Regions from separate parts of the Homo sapiens genome. Here regions 2, 3, 4, 5, 6 and 7 are each linked to region 1. Evidence: promoter capture Hi-C in 16 types of primary human blood cells and fetal thymus (Javierre and others, 2016). All regions are on one chromosome and are shown on one strand. Each heading gives the region's core, a stretch centred on a gene start or on the middle of the fragment in contact. The rest is flanking DNA. Distances are from core to core; before and after follow the strand shown.

Evidence for each region. The method cuts DNA at HindIII sites, captures the fragments that hold promoters and counts their contacts. A CHiCAGO score of 5 or more calls a contact.
Region 2: a fragment that was not itself captured here is called in contact with the fragment with the promoter of CNNM4 in region 1 in 3 of 17 cell types (naive CD4 T cells, total CD8 T cells and naive B cells); the score reaches 6.3 in naive CD4 T cells.
Region 3: a fragment that was not itself captured here is called in contact with the fragment with the promoter of CNNM4 in region 1 in 5 of 17 cell types (non-activated CD4 T cells, naive CD4 T cells, total CD4 T cells and 2 more); the score reaches 7.2 in non-activated CD4 T cells.
Region 4: a fragment that was not itself captured here is called in contact with the fragment with the promoter of CNNM4 in region 1 in 11 of 17 cell types (naive CD8 T cells, total CD8 T cells, naive CD4 T cells and 8 more); the score reaches 12.2 in naive CD8 T cells.
Region 5: a contact is called between the fragment with the promoter of ITPRIPL1 here and the fragment with the promoter of CNNM4 in region 1, in 17 of 17 cell types (M1 macrophages, erythroblasts, naive CD4 T cells and 14 more). The highest score is 15.9, in M1 macrophages.
Region 6: a fragment that was not itself captured here is called in contact with the fragment with the promoter of CNNM4 in region 1 in 10 of 17 cell types (total CD8 T cells, non-activated CD4 T cells, total CD4 T cells and 7 more); the score reaches 13.3 in total CD8 T cells.
Region 7: a fragment that was not itself captured here is called in contact with the fragment with the promoter of CNNM4 in region 1 in 7 of 17 cell types (naive CD8 T cells, total CD4 T cells, non-activated CD4 T cells and 4 more); the score reaches 9.4 in naive CD8 T cells.

What each region holds. Positions count from the first base shown.
Region 1 is chr2:96,759,447-96,762,283 of GRCh38, reverse strand. It overlaps CNNM4 (cyclin and CBS domain divalent metal cation transport mediator 4), which reads right to left and starts at 1,382. Exons shown (of 7, transcript NM_020184.4): 1 at 1-1,382. The coding sequence starts at 1,284. RefSeq lists enhancers at 157-745, 625-874, 746-1,335, 1,895-1,944 and silencers at 838-1,021, 1,145-1,564. The HindIII fragment of the contact is 3,226 bases long and covers 1-2,337 here.
Region 2 is chr2:96,256,928-96,259,764 of GRCh38, reverse strand. All of the region lies in intron 2 of TMEM127 (transmembrane protein 127), which reads left to right. Among named protein-coding and RNA genes, the nearest start is that of TMEM127, 7.7 kb to the left of the region's middle. RefSeq lists enhancers at 1-164, 1-1,801. The HindIII fragment of the contact is 1,492 bases long and covers 666-2,157 here.
Region 3 is chr2:96,273,553-96,276,389 of GRCh38, reverse strand. CIAO1 (cytosolic iron-sulfur assembly component 1) reads right to left here. Exons shown (of 7, transcript NM_004804.3): 7 at 2,217-2,837. SNRNP200 (small nuclear ribonucleoprotein U5 subunit 200) reads left to right here. Exons shown (of 45, transcript NM_014014.5): 44 at 1,041-1,133; 45 at 1,235-2,052. The coding sequence ends at 1,378. Among named protein-coding and RNA genes, the nearest start is that of CIAO1, 8.7 kb to the right of the region's middle. The HindIII fragment of the contact is 1,608 bases long and covers 676-2,283 here.
Region 4 is chr2:96,298,598-96,301,434 of GRCh38, reverse strand. It overlaps SNRNP200 (small nuclear ribonucleoprotein U5 subunit 200), which reads left to right. Exons shown (of 45, transcript NM_014014.5): 5 at 382-437; 6 at 2,008-2,106; 7 at 2,468-2,620; 8 at 2,733-2,832. Among named protein-coding and RNA genes, the nearest start is that of SNRNP200, 5.5 kb to the left of the region's middle. The HindIII fragment of the contact is 9,589 bases long and covers 1-2,837 here.
Region 5 is chr2:96,323,874-96,326,710 of GRCh38, reverse strand. It overlaps ITPRIPL1 (ITPRIP like 1), which reads right to left and starts at 1,394. Exons shown (of 3, transcript NM_001008949.3): 1 at 1,146-1,394; 2 at 862-964; 3 at 1-69. The coding sequence starts at 871. RefSeq lists an enhancer at 707-1,207 and a silencer at 1,230-1,479. The HindIII fragment of the contact is 6,653 bases long and covers 1-1,989 here.
Region 6 is chr2:96,346,196-96,349,032 of GRCh38, reverse strand. The region is part of intron 6 of NCAPH (non-SMC condensin I complex subunit H); the gene reads right to left. Among named protein-coding and RNA genes, the nearest start is that of NCAPH, 12 kb to the right of the region's middle. The HindIII fragment of the contact is 3,449 bases long and covers 1-2,837 here.
Region 7 is chr2:96,390,017-96,392,853 of GRCh38, reverse strand. No RefSeq gene overlaps it. Among named protein-coding and RNA genes, the nearest start is that of NCAPH, 56 kb to the right of the region's middle. The HindIII fragment of the contact is 6,592 bases long and covers 1-2,837 here.

The DNA.
Region 1 (2,837 bases), core at 133-2,632:
GGCCAAGTCTTTGACGTAGAGAATATCTACAATATTGGACTGCTCGTCTTCGAACACCGGGATGCGAGTATAGCCGCTTTCCATTATCTCCGACATGGTGTTGAAGTCCAGGATGGCATCGCTGCGGATCATGAAGCAGTCCTGGAGCTGGGTCATGATATCCTCTACAGTTTTGGTCCGTAGTTCCAGGGCACCCTGGATCATATTGAGCTCCTCTTTCACGAGGTCATTATAGGGCTCCGTCACCTTCAACATCTCCATCAGCTTCTCCCGGTTGTAAACAGTGCGAATCTCCTGGCCCAGAAAAAAGTCCAGGAGCTTGCTAATGGGAAAACTGAGGGGGAAGGTGAGTAGCATAAAGAATTTGGTGAGAAGGATGGTGTTGGCACCCACAGCCAGCCCATGTCGGGAGCACAGGGCCTGAGGTAGGATCTCCCCAAAGATGACAATGCCAATGGTGGAGGAGGCCACCGCCATGAGGCCGGACCCGATGAGGTTGTCTAGAAGGATTGTGAGGGAGGTGTTGACCAGCACGTTCCCTAGGAGCAACGAGCAGAGAAGGTAGTTGCCCTTGCGCCGGATGGGCTCAATCTTGCGGGCATAGCGCCTCTCCTTCTCGGTGCCACAGTTCTGCACGATGCGCAGCTCCATGGGGTCCAGGGCCATAAGCCCGAGGTTGAGGCCAGAAAATATGCCCGACAGCACCAGCAGCACCGTAATTAGGAGAATGTGCAGCCAGAGAGGCAGGAACCTCCCAGGCTCCTCCACCATGAAGAGCAGTGAGTCCTTGTCCGTCCACTTCAGCCAGGGCCCGTCGGGCTGGGCCCGGGTGCACAGTGCATACAGCTTCATGCTCTCGCTCCTCCGGAGGAACTTGGTGAGCACCACCAGCACGCCGGACGTGTTCCCGCGGCTCACGTTGACCAGCTGCTGGACGACCAGGTCCTTGGTGAGCTCGAGGCAGCTGGTGGACTTGTGGAGGGTCTCGGCATCGTCCACCTCGGTGAAGGAGATCAGGTTGCTGGAGATGTTGCCCAGGCTGTAGCCGTACAGCCTCAGGTTCACGGTGCTGCCCTCGGACACGAAGATGATGCCATCCGGGTTCGTCCCACACGACTTGTTGCAGCTCGCCAGCCTCATGCCCACGATCGTGCCCTGCTGGGGGCTGCCCTGGCCCCGGGCCCCCAGCGCCCACAGCAGCACCAGCAGCACCGGCGCCGCCAGGAGGAGGCGCCCGCGGGCCGGTCCGCCGACCGGGCGCCCGCCCCCGCCCACCGGCGCCATGTTGCTCTGGCTCTGCCGCCGCCGCCGCTCCCCGCGCCACGCCGCGCGGCCCCGGTCCGCACCGCAGCTCCGGCCGCTCCGCTGCCGCCGAGCCAACTGCCCGGGCCGCGAGCCTGACGTCAGGTCAGCGCCCCGCCCGCCCCGCCCCGCCTGCCCACGCCCCTCATTTGCATTGGAGGCCCCGCCCCCGGGGCTCGCTGCTTGAGCGCCCGCCCTTAAGGGGGTACAGTCGCTTAAGGTGGAGCAGCGCCGCCGCGCGAGAGCCGCCAGCGGGTACCCGCCCAGTGCTCCGCCTCCGCGCCCTTCCCCGCCTTTCTCTGCCAGTGGGGCCAGCTCTCCTTCTCCGGGACCTGGTCTCCTAGCTACGCCGTTCCTGTTCCTCGGCCTCGCACGGCCGCACGTGGGAGGCTCCTCTCCCGTCCCTCACCTGCAGCTAGGGGTGGCCCGCTCTGCAGGCAGGGCGAGAAAAGTGCTTTTCCTGATGTAGAAAAAGAAAAAGGAAACCTGAGGGCTTAGGCTGGCATTGCAGCCTGCCCCTTGGAGACTTTTCTGGCCTCCTCACTGCTGAGATTTTTGCCGACCTTGTCCTAAGGCCAGAAGTAGGTTACCCCAGCCCCAGCCCCAGCCCGACGATGCTTCCATCAACCAGTGGCTGCCTGATGTGGAAGGCAAATCTGGGGAACTAAGGTTATAGAAGGGGCAGGCTCTGGCCTAGACTTCTCTCCTGTCTCTTCCATTTAGGCATAGATATTTATTGAACACCTACTTTGTACCAGGCACTTGTTCTAGGCTCTGACAATAGAGCAGTGAACAAGCCAAAGTCGCTGCCCATTGGGGTTTACAGTCTAGAACAGAAAACAGGAGATAAACAAGTAAACACATATATTCATTAAATCCCCCCAACAACCCTCAGAGTTAGTAGAATTATTTCCATTTAGAGATGCAGAAATTGAGCCGAGACAAAAATCCTGGTGCCTCCATACTGTCATCTCCCAGCCCATTTCTCCATCTGTAAATGGGGGTAAGAATGACAGAGCATTACTTCGCTAAGCTTGCGGGATTGTGGACCTAGACATTGAACATGACAGGACAGCTCTTTAGAATATTCTTTGGCTAGGTAGTAGTTGTTGCTACCTGCCTTCCAGGACCAAACTCCTAACCCCAAATTGTGGTGATTGATCAGCTGGGCAGCTGCTTGTGGACATGAGCAGGCAGGCGCGGCAGTGGGCCTATCCCTGAAATGACTGCTTCCTGAATGGCCCTAGCCCTGTGTCAGTAGGGTGTATAAGGAAGACCACAGCTGCCCGCCCTGTGAGGGGGAAGAAGACAGACAGATAAACATCCTTACAATAATTGCACAGGTGCACAGAGAAGATCAGGTACTGGGTTGACCACCAGGTCTCACAGCAAATCTTTTGCCAGTACTGAAGACACAGAACCCACTTTACTCCCTTCCCGCACTGACACTTGTATTTATTTTCATTTTGGTGTAATGTTTGCTAATAAAAGCAGCAATCAGTACCAAACGGAAGGAGCCTAAACAGAAAGGATCA
Region 2 (2,837 bases), core at 162-2,661, 500 kb after region 1:
GATAGATGAGAGAACAGAGGTCCAGCGCACTCAAGGGACTTGCTCAAAGTAACACAGTCTCTGCTAGAGCTAGGATTCGGCGCCAGGTCCCAAGCCTTTCCGGTGTCCTGACCACTTCCTAGAGCAGGCTCTGATGGTTGCAATGCTGCAGGAGCTTAGACACCATGCCTGGCAGGTTTTGCCCAATAATTCCCCATGTGAGGACTTAATGACCCAAACCTTTTTTGCTTCTTAGAGAGATTTCATTGCTTCAAGCTGTTCCTCTAGTGAGCTTAGCAGCTGGCTCTGAGGATGGCTCCAACAGTATTCCTGTTAGCTTCTGACCCCTCATTCACGCACAACTCTTTAGGAATTGATTGATTATCTCCAGGGAAAAATACAGTGGCCGAGTCTGGTACTTAGTGATTCCGAGCAGCACAGTGTAGGGGAGCCTGATCATGGTTTGGAATCTAGCTCTGCAGCGTGTGGCCTGGAGGAAGCCACTTCACCTTCTGGAGCCCCCGACTCCTCATCTGAGCTGTGTGGTAAATCCCCCAGGGGGGCACTTCACCCATCTGTGTGCACAGGCTGTTCCAGGAGGGGTATACAAGGCCCCTCCAACAATATTTGCCTTTGGAGAGGAGCAGGTGGACATCCGCAAGGGGAGGGATGTCCTCTTGGAAGCTTTTTATCATGTGCATGTCTCCTTACTAGTAAAATTCATGTATAATGAAACATAAGACAATAGGAGTATATGTCATGGATGTACATTTTTAAGGATAATCAAATGAACATCCTTGTGCTCACCATCCAGCCAAAGAAACAATACAGGCTCCTTGAAGCCTGCACATATTACTTTTCTTACTCCAACTGCCTGGCCTCATCAGTAATGTGAGTGGAATCTGACACGGCCTACTGCAGAGCGGCATGTGACCTCTGGTAGGTTATTCTTGGAAGCACTATAAGAACACTGCCCCATCCCTGCCACATGCCACGTGGACCCCAAGAAGAACTCTCTTAGCTTTTAATAAGATTTAAAATACAGCCAGGAGATAGCCCCTGTCTCCTAGAGCTTTTCTTTCAGTGAGGCCCCATGCACTATGGCTCTGCAGGGCTGGGTTCAATGAAGGCTGGTCCCAGTTGCTGGCAGGGTTCACACACAGGCAGGCTTTCTGGCAGTAGACAGTTACCCAGGCTGGATGCTTGGGCCCAAAACAGATGGTCAGCAGACAAGAGATCATGACAGATAGTTCTGAGGGCTGCTTCGTGGGTGACCCAAAGCCAGACAGAGGTGTATGAGCCTTGTCTGGGCCCAGCCAGCCTCTGCTGGGCGAACTCTGAGCCTGAGGCAGGGTATGCGTGCTCAATCCTAGAGGCTCAGGGCTTCTCTCTACCCAGAACCTGTGATGCTGGCATCTGTTGGGCTGAGTCAGCTTTGCTGGGTTTAGGTCCCCTCCCCAGGTTCCTGGACTTTCCCCCATCAGTCCACCTTCCTCTGAGGTCTGGAACCAGTGTTTCTTGAAGTGTGGGGCTTGGATCACCTGCATGGGGATTACCTGGGCTGCTTGTTAAAATCCAGATTCCTAGGCCCTGCTCCAGACCTAGAACTCGGACTCTCTGGGGACCTGGGAACACGCTTTCAGCCAGTGCCACAGTGATTTGGGTATGCCCTAGAGATTGATGATCACACCCCACACCCTCTCAGCCTGAGATCAAGTTCAGGAAAGGACGCTATATAGCCTGAGTCTTGCCAGCCCTTTCCAAATTTTCCTAAATCACTTGGTGACCCATGGCCTAAATAAAAGAAGAACTTGCCAGTGGCTGTAACAGAAGAAGGAGAGGAAGTTAAGGCCCATTTCCTACTTTTTTTTTTGAGGCGGAGTCACTCTGTCACCAAGGCTGGAGTGCAGTGATGTGATCTTGGCTCACTGTAACCTCCACCTCCCAGGTTCAAGCAGTTCTCCTGTCTCAGCCTCCTGAGTAGCTGGGACTACAGGTGCACGCCACCATACCTGGCTGATTTTTTAAATTTTTAGTAGAGACAGGGTTTCACCATATTGGTCAGGCTGGTCTCAAACTGCTGACCTCAGGCGATCCACCCACCTCGGCCTCCCAAAGTGCTGGGATTACAGGCGTGAGCCACCATGCCCGACCCCATTTCTACTTTTTATGAAAGCTTAAAATACTTAATCATGGCCTGGTTTCTTTTTGGTTCAGCCTTTATTCTACCCTATGCTTCTGGGAGCTTTTGCAGTTTGCATAGTTATCAAAGGAGACAGACAGTATCATCTAGTTTTTTGTTTTTTTGTTTTGTTTTTTGTTTTTGAGATGGAGTCTCGCTCTGTCGCCAGGCTGGAGTGCAGTGACACGATGTCGGCTCACTGCAACCTCCGTCTCCAGGGTTCAAGCGATTCTCCTGCCTCAGCCCCCCGAGTAGCTGGGACTACAGGCGCGCGCCACCACGGCCGGCTAATTTTTGTATTTTTAGTAGAGACGGGGTTTCACCATGTTGGCCACGCTGATGTCGAACTCCTGACCTCAGGTGATCCACCCGCCTCGGCCTCCCAAAGTGCCAGGATTATAGGCGTGAGCCACTGTGCCTGGTAGTGTCGTCTAGTTGAAATGTTTTTTTAAAGAATGGCTAAAGTACTGGAGGGAAATACAAGTTGCTGTGTGTCTGCTGCGTGGTTGTTGTCATGGGCTCTCCCTGCACCATGACCCCCAGGAACCCCTTGAGTGCTGTGTCTTTTCTTTCAGCCTCTTCCTTTTCCTTCATTTATGCCCTTGACGTGTGCACGTTGGCACTGTCCAAGGCTTCTGGGGCTTTTGTGGTATAAATGTGGTGGCTTCCTAGCTTT
Region 3 (2,837 bases), core at 230-2,729, 490 kb after region 1:
GTTGTGTAGTATTGTCCATCTCTCTGACTCTTTAAGATGCATTTGTCTTTAACTCCGATGGCTGCAGGACACTTGGGCTTTCCTGGTTGTTTCTTCTTTTTTCTCACTGCCACTTACTGTGCTTCTGGGTGCTTGGTTTTTTACCACCAGAAAGAAATTCTGGTTCTCTTTATATGGGAGAATAATTGAAGGTTGATAGCAGAAACCAGATACTGTCATGTTTAATTCTGTAAACTAATTGTTTCAAGGCTCTGAGTAAAGACTGCTTTTAACTGGGACTCTTCGTCTTTGTGACAGCGGGGCAGCCCGTAGACAGGGCTGCAAGGCCTGCTGTGGATATCTCTGTGCACATTCAGCTCTGTGTTAAGCTTTTTCTTTTTTTTTGAGACGGAGTCTCGCTCTGTCGCCCAGGCTGGACTGCAGTGGCGCGATCTCGGCTCACTGCAAGCTCCGCCTCCCGGAATCACGCCATCCTCCTGCCTCAGCCTCCCGAGTAGCTGGGACTACAGGCACCCGCCACCATGCCCGGCTAATTTCTTTTTTGTATTTTTGGTAGAGACGGAGTTTCACCATGTTAGCCAGTATGGTCTCGATCTCCTGGCCTCGTGATCCACCCGCCTCGGCCTCCCAAAGTGCTGGGATTACAGGCGTGAGCCACCGCGCCCAGCCTAAGCTTTTTCTCATCTGGCAGATTTGCCTTGTACTTAAAAGTATCTCTAAGGAACTCAAAGCTCCTAGGCCCCAAAGACTAGACCTCTAATAGTAGTACCTTGGACTTAGTGGCAGGTACTAAGTGGGAGAAGGTACCTTGGCACAAGGAAATGAGCCAGAACCAACAAATGAATTCATCTACTTAAAAAATTAAGTCTGTTTGAGACAACTTTTGATAGTATTAAAATGTTAAATCTAATTGTATTTCGGGAAGAAACTTTGGAAAGCTATCTGATTTTTGTTCTCTCTTTTGTAACTGTACCATTTTCATGGTTGCCTATGGTCATCAAGTTTTACATGCTGAAATTCTTGGTTTTGGATCACTGCAGAAACGTGAAGAGGGCTGGTGGGTGGTGATTGGAGATGCCAAGTCCAATAGCCTCATCTCCATCAAGAGGCTGACCTTGCAGCAGAAGGCCAAGGTGAGTGTGTCCACTGGCCCTAGCATTTGTTCTGGCATGGGGGAAGGGTGAGAATGCTTCCTGTGTCCATGCTCATCTTGATTTCTGCCTGCTCTTTCTAGGTGAAGTTGGACTTTGTGGCCCCAGCCACTGGTGCCCACAACTACACTCTGTACTTCATGAGTGACGCTTACATGGGATGTGACCAGGAGTACAAATTCAGCGTGGATGTGAAAGAAGCTGAGACAGACAGTGATTCAGATTGAGTCCTGAGGCATTTACTTTTGGGTAAAGGAGAGTTGAGCCTGAATTAGGAATGTGTACATTGTAGGAATCCTGGTTGTGGGGACCAGGTCTGTGGGCCTCAGGTCTGGCCAGCCAGGGCTGGTGCTGTCCCCGCCTACCTCCACTTCCTTTCCCTTGCTCACTCTGGATCCAGTGACAGCAGGTGTCATGGGTCAAGCATAAATCATATATAGCATTTTCAGGCATGTTCCTGGTAGTTCTTTTGAGTCTGACATTCTAATAAAATAATTTGTAGAAACCATTTGTCTTTGTAGTGATTCCAAATTAAAAGTTTTCTTTCTCCAACCTGAGGGCACGGCCAAAAAGATCTGGTTATTTTTTAGCCAGGAACGTGCTTGTTAATGAGTATGTCTGGAGGACAGACCTGCTCATTAGGTGTGCTGTCCCCTGTAGCCTCGTGAGTCAGCCCAGAGGAGGGTACATGCGACTGTGGCCTGGCCTCAGTGGTACCCACACATCAGCACTACCACAAGAACCAACACTGAGCCTCGGAAGCTAGATCACAGGTTAGGGGTTTCTCTAGATGGGGGTTCTGAAATTTGCAGTGTCTGCTCCTGGGAGGCAGCACCAGAAAGGGCACTGAAATGTACTAGCTGGATGTGACCCAGTCTTAATAAACAGGTTTTCTAATCCAGATCTTCCGACTGTCTTCAAATTCTTACCTTCTGTTCTTTAGATTAAATGCACACAAAATTGAAAGATGATTCTGAAGGGCAGTTTCCTCAGGGTAGCAGTTTTCAAATGATTTGGTCTTAGGACCTCTTTACACTACTAAAAACTAAGAAACTCAGGTTTTTGTTTTTTTTTTTTTCTTTTTAAATAACAAATTTATTTTTCACAGTTCTGGAGGTTGCCCCAAAAAGCTTTTATTATCTAGATTAAGGTTAATGCACTTTTAAATCATAATGTTAACATTTTTTTTCTTAATAGAGACAGAGTTTAGCCATGTTGCCCAGGCTGACCTTGAATTCCTGAGCTCAAGTGATCCGCCCACCTCAGCCTCCCAGAGTGCTGGGATTACAGGCATGAGCCACCATGCCCAGCCCACGTTAACATTTTTTATGAAGAATAACTTCCAAAACAATCCAAGGAGAAGGGTGGCATTTTACAGTCTCTTTAGTATCTTGTTATAATAAACAGTTGAATTCTTACAGCTGCTTCTACATCCAAACTTTTTTGTTGAAGTAAGTTGACTTCACACAGATACGCAGTTGGAAAAGTTTTTAAAATAGCCTTTTCAGCTAATTGTGGCTATTCTTTGATACCACACCAAGACTACAAGTGATTTTTTTTTTTTTTTTTTTTTTTTGAAATGGAGTCTCGCTCTGTCACCCAGGCTGGAGTCCAGTGGCACGATCTCGACTCACTGCAACCTCCACCTCCCGGGTTCAAGCTATTCTCCTGCCTCAGCCTCCCGAG
Region 4 (2,837 bases), core at 88-2,587, 460 kb after region 1:
TAATGTCAGTGAGTTCCCATAATCTGTTCTGTGTTTTTTGAAGAGTTACAATTGATGGACACCAGAATCCCTAGATTCCAGCAGCTGTTCCTTACTCTGAGACCCTTTTATTGTGTGGAATATGAGAAAATGTGGGCAGAGCCTTGGGGGCTCAAGTGGTTGAGCAAGCAGAGCTGGGCTGACTCCAAGGCTGGCAGGTGGAGAAGGTCTTGGCAGGAGCAGCATAGGTGGCTCTCTCATGTTGATCATCTAAGTATCTGTATGTGTCCTTAGCACTTAGATCTTTCCTGAGGAGAGGTAGTCGGGGAGGACATTGGCTCCAGAGTGCCTTGTTTTACTAGCCATTCACTGCCCTCTTTTTCTAATCCTTCATTGTTTCAGATGACAACATTGATGAGACATACGGTGTGAATGTGCAGTTTGAGTCTGATGAGGAGGTGAGTGATAAACATACCCAGTCCATTCTTGTTTTTGACGTTGATTAAGGTAAAGGGACCCCTTCTAGTGTAAACAAGCTCTCTAGTTTAAACCAGATAAATTTTATGGTGTTGTATGGGTTTCAGACTTGGGCATTATATGTTCTTTTGCTTAAAAAAAAGTGCAGTTATCTTTTAACTTTGCTACCGCAAATTTAAACTAACAAATGTAAAGCAATATAATTTTTTTTTTTTTGAGACGGAGTCTTCTCTGTCGCCCAGGCTGGAGTGCAGTGGTGCGATCTCGGCTCACTGCAAGCTCTGCCTCCCAGGTTTCGCGCCATTCTCCTGCCTCAGCCTCCCGAGCAGCTGGGACTATAGGCGCCCGCCACCATGCCCGGCTAATTTTTTATATTTTTAGTGGAGACGGGGTTTCACCGTGTTAGCCAAGGTGGTCTTGATCTCCTGACCTCAGGTGATCCGCCCCCCGTCGGCCTCCCAAAGTGCTGGGATTACGGGTGTGAGCCACTGCGCCCGGCCACAATATAATTATTTAAAATATACCAAGTGGATCAGCAAAAAGAAAGAAAAAAGTTAAAGTACAGTGTATACTTTCATTGAGAATGTATCTGCTATGTTTTACTGCATTTTAACCTTATTACAGTATTTTCCCATTTTTCATTACTGTATCTGACTAAAAGATTGCACATTTGCCCTAGAGCACAGACATAGTTTGTACATGGTTAAGTCACTGGGGTTAATGTTTACTGTCTAATAGAATTCCTTGAATATAACTAAATAGGAATAAGTGGGGTACTTTGAGAAAATTACAGTGCCTTAGAGTTCTCAGTGAGTAGAAGTGGCTCCTGAAAGGGAAAATGGAGCCCCGGTATATATACCAAGGCTGGAAGAAGGGGTCGCACGGGGAGAGTCAGAGGACTAGGAGCCAAGACTTCTGAGTTTGAGTCCTGTATCTTGGCAGGTCATCTTGCTTCAGTTTCTCCTTCTATAAAATGAGGCCATTTCAATAGGTGATTGCTAAGCCTCTTCCTACAGTATAGTTAATAGGATTTGATGATTTTAAGTAGCAACAAACTGCTTTGCTTTTAGCAGTTCATTCATTTAACAGTGCTCATTATTGAAGTACCTGTTTTGACTGTGACACTATGCCAGGTACGCCTAATGTGCAGTGTATGAGTAAATAGAGTGGTGAGCAGGCTAAGTGCGATCTCTTCATTCCGGAGTCACCACCTGCTTTCCCAGGCATGCCTCTGTATAGCTCTTTTCTCCTTAGCTGATCACTGTTTTTGAGTGTTGATTGTGTGTGTATTAGAGAGAGGCTATGATCCAGTTGATTGCCATTGTAGCAGCCTAAGGTGAGAAATAGAAAGTAGATATATCTAATAAGTCGTGCTAAGCAGTCATTCTATGTCCACTGGAATAAGGCTGACCTTGGTTCCAATAGGCTCTCGGTTTCACCCCAAAGCCATTTCTCTACCCATTGAGCTAATTTAGGGTGACTTGAGGGAGAGGTTCTGTGGTGATGCAGGATCAGCTCCAGATCATGGTTGAGTTGGGGTCATTTCCACAGGAAGGTGATGAAGACGTATACGGGGAGGTTCGAGAAGAGGCATCTGATGATGACATGGAAGGGGACGAGGCTGTCGTGCGCTGCACCCTCTCGGCTAATGTAAGTTCAGTTTGCTCTTCCTCATTGCTACAAGGTTACTTCTGGGTGTTAGTGCTTCTTCCCCATGCCTAGGTCCTGTTACATTTATTGAGCCACTTTTTGCTGGAGTGAACTATAATAAACACTTAGTGTCTAGAGTTTCTTAAAATTTCTGTCGGTTTTCTTCCTTCCCAAAGATGTATGTTGATGAAATCTTAGTCTGGTGTGCTTCTGAACTCAATATTCCAGAGTTTTTTCCTCTGGAAAGTCCTCACAAGAAGGTGGGCTATGGATTGTCAAGTAGAACTTGGTTGCAGGGTGGTGGCAAAGTGATCGAGGCTGGCAGAGACCTGGTGAGCTAAATGCCTGGTTACTTTTATAGCTCGTAGCCTCAGGTGAACTGATGAGTTCCAAGAAGAAGGATTTGCACCCTCGGGATATTGATGCATTTTGGCTGCAGCGGCAGCTCAGTCGTTTCTATGATGATGCCATCGTGTCGCAGAAGAAGGCAGATGAAGTATTGGAGATTTTGAAGGTATGGCCAAGATGACAATAGTTGTATATTTAGTGTATCTTAGCACATGGGGACAGCGTATGAAGTGGCAGATGGCTTTGGCCTTAATGGTGGTGTTACCTGCTCTCTGCAGACGGCCAGTGATGATCGGGAATGTGAAAATCAGCTGGTTCTGCTGCTTGGTTTCAACACCTTTGATTTCATTAAAGTGTTGCGGCAGCACAGGATGATGAGTGAG
Region 5 (2,837 bases), core at 145-2,644, 440 kb after region 1:
GAGGGTGGTGAACAACATACATCACTGCCAAGAACAGCAGGCTTATCACAGCCATGGAGGCCTCTGCATCTGGAGAAGTAGGAGAGTAGGAGTCAGTGGTCATCTTCCAGACTTATCTGCTCTCTAGCTCACATTCCCCAGAGCCCTGGTACCCCAAATTCTGAAAATCAGCTACTCAGGAGGAACAGAAAGCCCACAGAGCTTGGCTTGGACACAGCAAGGGTGGTCGGCCTGGGAGGAGGTTCGAGAGAAAAGAGGGCGAAAGGATGTGCCACTCAGTCTCTCTCCTGCTTTCCTTCCACATGGTGTGGGTGGTATTTAGGCTTCCAGAAAGTGTACATGGGACTGTTTTCATTCCTGTGTAGGATGGGGAGGGGGACCCTTGTGGTAGGGTGGCCTCACCCGACTCCTCAGTCAACCATGGGCACCAGATATGACCTGCTGATCCCAGAGGCTCCCTTTTATAGCCAGAAAGCCCTGAACCTGCCTGGGTGACACCTTTCCTCTGCCCCGGCAGCCAGTTGTAGCATTCCACTTCCTCTGTGACTTCACAGTCTTCATTCTGCTCACCCAGTATGAAGTGAGCCTCATCACTCAGCCTCTCCCTCTCTGCCCAGGGAGCGCAAGAGAGGCACAGTGCCGCCAGCTGCTTGCTACGGTGCCCTCTCTGCTCCTAAGGGGCTAGTGGATACCCCGTGTGTGGGCAGGCTAGCTTCACTTCTTAGTTCAGAAAACTGTCTGCAGAACCAGGTGCCCAAGGCCTACCTGACAGCCGGCAGTGGTCAGTTCCACTGCCTCCCCACCCACCCGTGAAGCCCGAGCTTCTGCCACTCACCCTAATTCACAAGCTACCGCGCTTACCAACATTCATGAAGGACTATGCCGTGTGGACGCTGAAGCCAGCTGGGCCTATCCTCCCTTTGGAACTTGGCCTTGCTTCGTCTCCCCGCCCTCTCTAGGAGCCCTGTTAAAATGTACAAGGTACCTGGGGGCTTTGGCTCAAATCGGAACCCGACCCTCCCCCCATTCATAACTTCCCCAAATTCCACGCCCAGAGATTTGTACTCTCACCCGCCTATCCGTAGGAGGCCAAGGGCCCATCCTACCTCGGGATGTCTCCCGGGACCCAGGGCCAGGTTACTCACCGTCAGTGTTAGTAGGAACACGATCTTAAAGAGACAGCGCGGCCTGACCGCCACTGCTTTTTTCCCGGCAGGGTGGGGGCGTCCGGTTCATCGCTGGGGCCGCCCGCGGGAGTGGCCCTGCTCCCCTTTCCTGGGTTATAGACCATGCTTGTCCGAGCGTCTGAACGTCTGGCTGAGCGCGGTGGGCCCCTACGACCCCCAGCACGCGGCTCCGAGGGCGCCCGCGCGCCGCAGCCGCTCCCGCCGTCCGGGCTCCTCCCCGCCCACCCAGTACAAGCTCCTCCCCGCCCAAACCCCCGTGGCCCAGCGTGCAGGGGCAGCGGCCTCCCCACACCGGGTCTCTGTCCGCACCGAGGCCCCCGTGGGTTTGCTGGGAGAGTGGAGGGGCCGTGGCCACACACTCTCCGCTGCTCGGCCTCCCTGGGGTGGCAAATGGGGCACCGCCGTGCCTGCTGTCAGCTGCACTCAGCTCAGTTCAGTGGAGAACAGACTTACTAGGATTCGGGTGTAAGGATGATGGTGGCAAAACTAGGAATTGACCGAGAAAAGCCATTCTCACTTCGGGCTGGCCCTGAGCAAAATGGCACACGAAATAAGATGTGGTTTCAGCACCCTAAATGTGCTTCCCTCCCAGCCCACGCCCAGACTCAGGCATCTTTCCCCAACCCCTTTCTCATATCAAAGTGACTCTCATGAAAGAACAGACAGCACCCAAAGACCTTACTTGGGGCCTTGCTTGCTACTCACTGGCCACGTGGGAGTAAGAATCCTACCTACAGGGCAGCTCTGCTGATACATGGGTGTATAAAGGAGAACTTTATACGGTGTGGAGGCTGGACAAGCTTTATCACACCTTAAGAAACACAACAGAATGGGTTTCCTGAAAGGGATCTTCAGATATCAGAAAGAGCCCTTAGTCTTCCTGTCTTGTGTCAGCTATCCAAGAAGAAAAGGAAGTGATGACCCCTTGATACTAACTCACTAAAATCCCTCTGCTGAAAGACAAGTTTCAGGGTTTTTATTTGTTTGTTTGTTTTTGAGAAAGAGTTTCGCTCTGTCACCCAGGCTGGAGTGTAGTGGCACCATCTTGGCTCACTGCAGCCTACCCGCCCCAGGTTCCAGTGATTCTCCTGCCTCAGCCTACTGAGTAGCTGGGACCACAGGTGTATGCCACCATGTCCAGCTAATTTTTGTATTTTTAGTAAAGACGGGGTTTCACCATGTTGGCCATGCTGGTCTCGAACTCCTGACCTCAGGTGATCTGCCCGCCTCGGCCTCCCAAAATGCTGGGATTATATGTGTAAGCCATCACACATGGCTGGGTTTCAGGTCTTCTTATCCAGTGGCAATGTGTAGGGAGCTCCCAAACAACTTGTACAATACTTCCAAGAATACTGACTTATTTAATTGTGGAGCAGGAAAAACTGTCTGCTAGCTGACAATGACTGAAGTTCCAAAGTTACTTTTTATAAATGTGAATTATGAAAAATAGATCACAGGTTATTGAGCATTCATGCATTTGGAGCAGTAATAATGAAAGTCTCTTATCTTTTCACTTATGACATGATGTCAGGATGCAAAATATATGCTTCAGAGTGTGCAAAAACGATAATGTTTAAGACCATGTGTTTTAAAGTTGTATTATTTTAATTAACAAATAATAATTGTACATATTCATAGGGTGCACAGTCA
Region 6 (2,837 bases), core at 250-2,749, 410 kb after region 1:
ACAGAATTTCCAAACATCCTGTACTTAATAATCCGATTGATTTGAACATTTCACTATAGAATCAAAAGCAAGAATGACAGTAAGGGCCAGGAGCGGTGGCTCGCGTCTGTAATCCCAGCACTTTGGGAGCCCCAGTGGGTAGATCACTTGAGATCAGGAGTTCGAGACTAGCCTGGTCACCATGGTGAAACCCCATCTCTACTAAAAATACAAAAAAATTTAGCTGGGCGTGGTGGTGCGTCCCAGCTACATGGGAGGCTGAGGCACGAGAATCGTTTGAACCGGGGAGACAGAGGTTGCGGTGAGCCAACATCGTGCCACTGCACTCCAGCCTGGGCCACAGAGCGAGACCCTGTCTCAAAAAAAAATAATAATAATAATGACAGTAAGATAAATTCCAGATTATCTGGGAAGGGGAAAAAACAAGGAGAATTGGGGGAGGGAAGGGAACGTAGAAAGGGCTTTCTGGATCCCTATGACTAATAAATAATACCACTTCAGATGTGTGTAGCATATCACCATGTTTAAAGACCTTGACATAGGCCAGGTGCGGTGACTCACACCTGTAATCCCAGCACTTTGGGAGGCCGAGGCGGGCGGCGGATCACAAGGTCAGAAGATCAAGACCATCCTGGCTAACACGGTGAAACCCCGTCTCTCCTAAAAATACAAAAAATTAGCCGGGCATGGTGGCGGGTGCCTGTAGTCCCAGCTACTCTGGAGGCTGAGGCAGGAGAATGGCGTGAACCCGGGAGGTGGAGCTTGCAGTGAGCTGAGATAGCGCCACTGCACTCCAGCCTGGGCGACGGAGCAAGACTCCATCTCAAAAAAAAAAAAAAAAAGAGAGAGACCTTGGCATAAATGGATTCACTAATATAAAACCGAGATGTGGTTGGGGCCAGCGTTCCCCATTTTTTATAGTATATGACAGTGAGATTCACAACTCTTCCCAGGTCAACAGCTAAGCACCGCACCCGGCCTACGTCAAGGTCTTTAAACATGGTGATATGCTACACACATCACCCACGGTTAATGCTGACACACACATAAGGAAAAAATACAACTCCCTCTCCCCACAAGAGCCAGCTGCTCTCGCCTCTCCCCTCCCTCTTAGGCCTCATTCTCAGTGACTCTCCTTCCTCTGGCCCCTCCCTGCCCGTGCACAGCAATGCCCTGCTCACCTCACCACTCAGAGTGGGCATGGCAAGGCCCCACCTCCCTAGCCCCTTGCACACTCAGTCTTACCACTACCATCTGCTGTAAGAACACTGGCATTCATCTCACTGTTGCCCTTTATCTGGCTTATTTATTAATTACACAAAAAGACCCAAGACACCCACAATTCTACATTTCTTGGACTCTAAGATCTATAGAACTCTGATGCCACCTCCCACCCCACCACAGCCCCCATCTCCCACTCCTCCTCAAAAACTGGTATTTCCTCAGGGCCCTCTAGACTCAGTCATCAGCAAAATTCTCTCTATCGCCCACTTAGTTCCTGAGGATTATCTCCACCTACTTGTTCTAATTTATGTATTCTCAATGGTGTTCTCATTTCACTCTCAAGGGGTGAAAACTGTTTCCTAGAGGCTAGGTGGGAAAAATCTTAGATATTACAATAATGTTTGCCTATCCAAATCTCTACCCTATCTGACAAAATCTTATTCCTTAGTATTTCATTTTAAGGGGAAGGAGTAGGCACAAAATGTCTAAATGGGTCTGAAGGGGCAAAAGTGATAAAAAAAAAAAAAAAACAGGCTGAGGGGCACTGCTCCAATTGAGACATGGTGCCAGCCTGAGGATAGGCTTCCCCTGCGGGCCTCTGCAGTGGCTGCTTTCTCTTCACAGCCGTCAAACCAGTGGCCTACAGGTGGGCCAGGTGATTGCAGCATCCAACTATCCCCCCTCCCAATTTCTAATGCCCCAGCTCTGAGTACAACATCAGCTTTTGCCACTGTCTGCCCATCTGTGTTGCAGTCATCTTCCAATCCCCAGGTCACAACCTGTCCTTCTTCTCAGAAGATCTTAGTATTAGTTTATGGCTCATTACTAGTCTCCAAATTTATTCCTGGTGTAGCTCTTATTGATTTCAATATCCATATGTTGATCCATCCAGTACACTGTCTCTTGGTTGATATCCTCTCCTTCAATGGTCTCCATCCTAAGAAACCCAGGACTCCAAGACAGCCAAGTAAGACACCAAGACAGCCTAGTAAGACCCCTACCCCGCCTCCGCCATTTGCTCCCTTGCCTGCTCTGAGTTGACTCATTAACCATGACTGCAACCTCTCTATATCCTCAATTCTAGGGCCCCTCTCTGGCAACCACCTCCTACATTTCCAGCTCACCCCTTCTTGTCCCCAACACCACGAAGTCTTTGACCCCACCAGGCCTACAATCTACTGATTATATTACTTTCCACTGCCCTCATTCCCCTGTCTTCCGAGGTAAAATTCCCTAAGCAGTGAATGCAACCACACCTTTACACATGCACTCACCTCCTCCAGTGTCCCTTTCCAGCTGTGTCCATTCACTCAGCTCAACAGGATCCCATATTAAACCCAACTTTCTGCCTACTCCATGATTGTACCCACACAGCTATTCACGGCTGGACAGAGACACAAAATAATGCTGACTGACCTCACTTTATATCCATCTGCCACCACCCTCAAGTAGACCCTAAGTTGTCTAACAGTCACACCATATCTCCCTAGTTCATGTACTCGCCCACCTCCTAGAGGACTCTTTCCTACCCTTTCCCCTCCTCACGCCCCCAGTGCCTTCCTTCCCTATCCTCACTGTAAGCTGATGACCTGGCTTCCTGTTTTAAGACAGTA
Region 7 (2,837 bases), core at 215-2,714, 370 kb after region 1:
CATGATGCCACGTAATCTCATGTTGAATTGTAATCCCCAATATTGAAGATGGGGCCTGATGAAAGGTGATTGGAACATGGTGTAGAATTCTCATGAATGGTTTAGCACCATCTTCTTGGTGCTGTCATTGCAATAGTGACTGAGTTCACGTGAGATCTGGTCATTTAAAAGTGTGTGGCATCTCCCCCACTGCACTCTCTTTCTCTTTTTTTTTTTTTTAAAAGACAGGATCTTGCTCTGTCACCCAGGCTGTGGTGCAGTGGCACAACCTTGACTCACTGCAACCCCCACCTTCCGGGTTCAAGTGATTCTCGTGCCTCAGCCTCCTGAATAGCTGGGATCACAGGTGCGCACCACCACGCCCAGCTAATTTTTGTATTTTTTGTAGTGACGTGGTTTAACCATGTTGGCCAGGCTGGTCTCAAACTCCTGACCTCAAGTGATCTGCCCACCTTGGCCTCCCAAAGTGCTGGGATTCCAGGTGTGAGCCACTGCACCTGGCCCCCTACTCTCTTTCTCTTGCTCCTGCTCTGCTATGTGAGATGTCTGCTCCTGCTTCATCTTCCACTGTGAGTAAAAGCTCCCTGAGGTCTCCCCAGAAGCTGAGCTGATGCCTGTGTCATGCTTCCTATAGGCTGCAGAACCATGAGCCAATTAAACCTCTTTATAAATTACCCAGTCTCAGGTATTACTTTTCAGCAATGCAAGATAATACACACACATGCAAGGGCTAATACACACACACAAACACACACACACACACGCAACTGGTGGAGAGTGACCATTTGGTAGAGGCAGGAGTTAAGTGAGCACGCCAACCCCCAAACCAACAGTGATAAATGTCATGGGAATGACACAGCGAAGGTTGCTGCCTAGGCATTAGAAGCAGAACCACACACCCAAATGGTTCAAGCAGGTGACCAGAGGTAAGAACTTAGAAGCAGCTCTCTCACCTAGCAGCTCCCCACTTTTCCTGCTGCTTCTGTTTAATGGACCATTCAGGCATTTGTGCATGAACTTAAGGTGACCCACATCCTATTTCCTTATCTATACTCCTGGGCTCTGATGAGCCTCCTTATACATACTGTCAGTTGCTGCCTCTCTCTCTGTCTCTCCCTTTCTTTCTCTCTCTCTCTCTCTCTCTTTCTGCCTGACCCTTTGTTCCTGCTTCGTGTGAGCCAGGGACAGGAGACATCCTCCTGACTCACTGTGCCTTCCCTGCCCAGGATCTGAAAGTAATAAATCTTTCAGCTTGTTTCTGATTATGGTGTACTGCGCCCTCCATCTGAAGAACCAGGGGCTACCCCAGGCGGAGTTTTCCCTGGGATGCCAGGGAGAACACAAGGTCAGGATCCTAGCATCAGAGCAATGGGCAGGCAGGACATGGGTCAGACAAGGGCCACCAGGTGTCTGCCAGTATAAACAAGTTTCCCAGTGAGGGACACCTGGTCATGGATCAGACAACTAAGCAGCAGGCTGTCCACAGTTAGAAGTAACGAAAGGCACAGTGTAAACACCCACATCCTGCTCCTGCTTATTTCGTGTTAGGGCGGTGTTGCTAGGCACTGTGGTACCGGACCCCCAATTTAGCTGGGGGCTTTCAAAACAGTAAAATACTGGATTTAAAAAAAATACTTAAAGGCCAGGTATGGTGGCTCACACCTGTAATCCTAACACTTTAGGAGGCCAAGGCAGAAGGATTCCTTGATGCTGGGAGTTCAAGACCAGTCTTGGCAACATAGAGAGACTCCATCTCTACAAAACTTTCTTTTTTTTTTTTTTAATAAGTTGGGCATAGTGGCATGTGCCTGTTGTCCTAGCTACTCCAAAAGCTGAGGCAGGAAGATCGCTTGAGCCCAGAGGTTCAAGATTACAATGAGCTATGATCATGCCACTGCACTCCAGCCTGGGCAACAGAGTGAGACTCTGTGTATTAAAAAAAAAAAAAAAATCAAAACAAAACAAAACAAAAACCCCAAACTTAAAGATACTGGAAATCAGACAGAAACCAGAAGAGTTTTATTTATTTTTTATTTTTTTCGAGACAGGATCTTGCTCTGTAGCCCCAGGCTGGAATGAATTGGTGCAAACACGGCTCATTGCAGCTTCGACCTCCTGGGCTTAGGTGATCCTCTCACCTCAGCCTCCTGAGTAGCTGGGACTACAGGCCCATGCCACCATGCCTGGCTAATTTTTGTATTTTTTGTAGAGATGAGGTCTCGCCACAATGCCCAGGCTGGTCTTGAACTTTTGGGCTCAAGTGATCCTCTGGCCTCAAAGTGATCCTCTGGCCTCAAGCTCCCAAAGTGCTGGGATTACAGGCATAAGCCACTGCACTCAGCCATAGTTGTTTTTTGTTTTTTGAGACAGGGTCTGGCTTTGTCGCCCGGGCTGAAGTGCAGTGGCACAATTGCAACTCACTGTAGCCTTGACCTCCTGGGCTCAAGCCATCCTTCCACCTCAGCCTCCCAAGTAGCTATGACCACAGGCGTGTGACACCACGCCTGGAAAATTTATGTATTGATTGATTGATTTTTTTTCAGAGACAGGGTCTCACTGTTGCCTAGGCTGGTCTCAAATTCTTGGGCTTAAGTGATCCTACTGCCTCGGCCTCCCAAAGTGCTGGGATTACAGGCCTGAGCCACCACACCCTGCCTCAGAAGAGTTTTAAACTAAAACTAAAATCAAAACAAGCAAACAACAAGACAGTTCTGGGCATGAGCTGCTTTGCTCCACTGACAGTTCAGCTGTGCCTACGTGAAGCAAACCCCTCAGGGCCTGGTGAAAGAGTCTTCTCTTGAAAGACAGCTATGCAGAACAAGGGCTGTGGGTCTGAT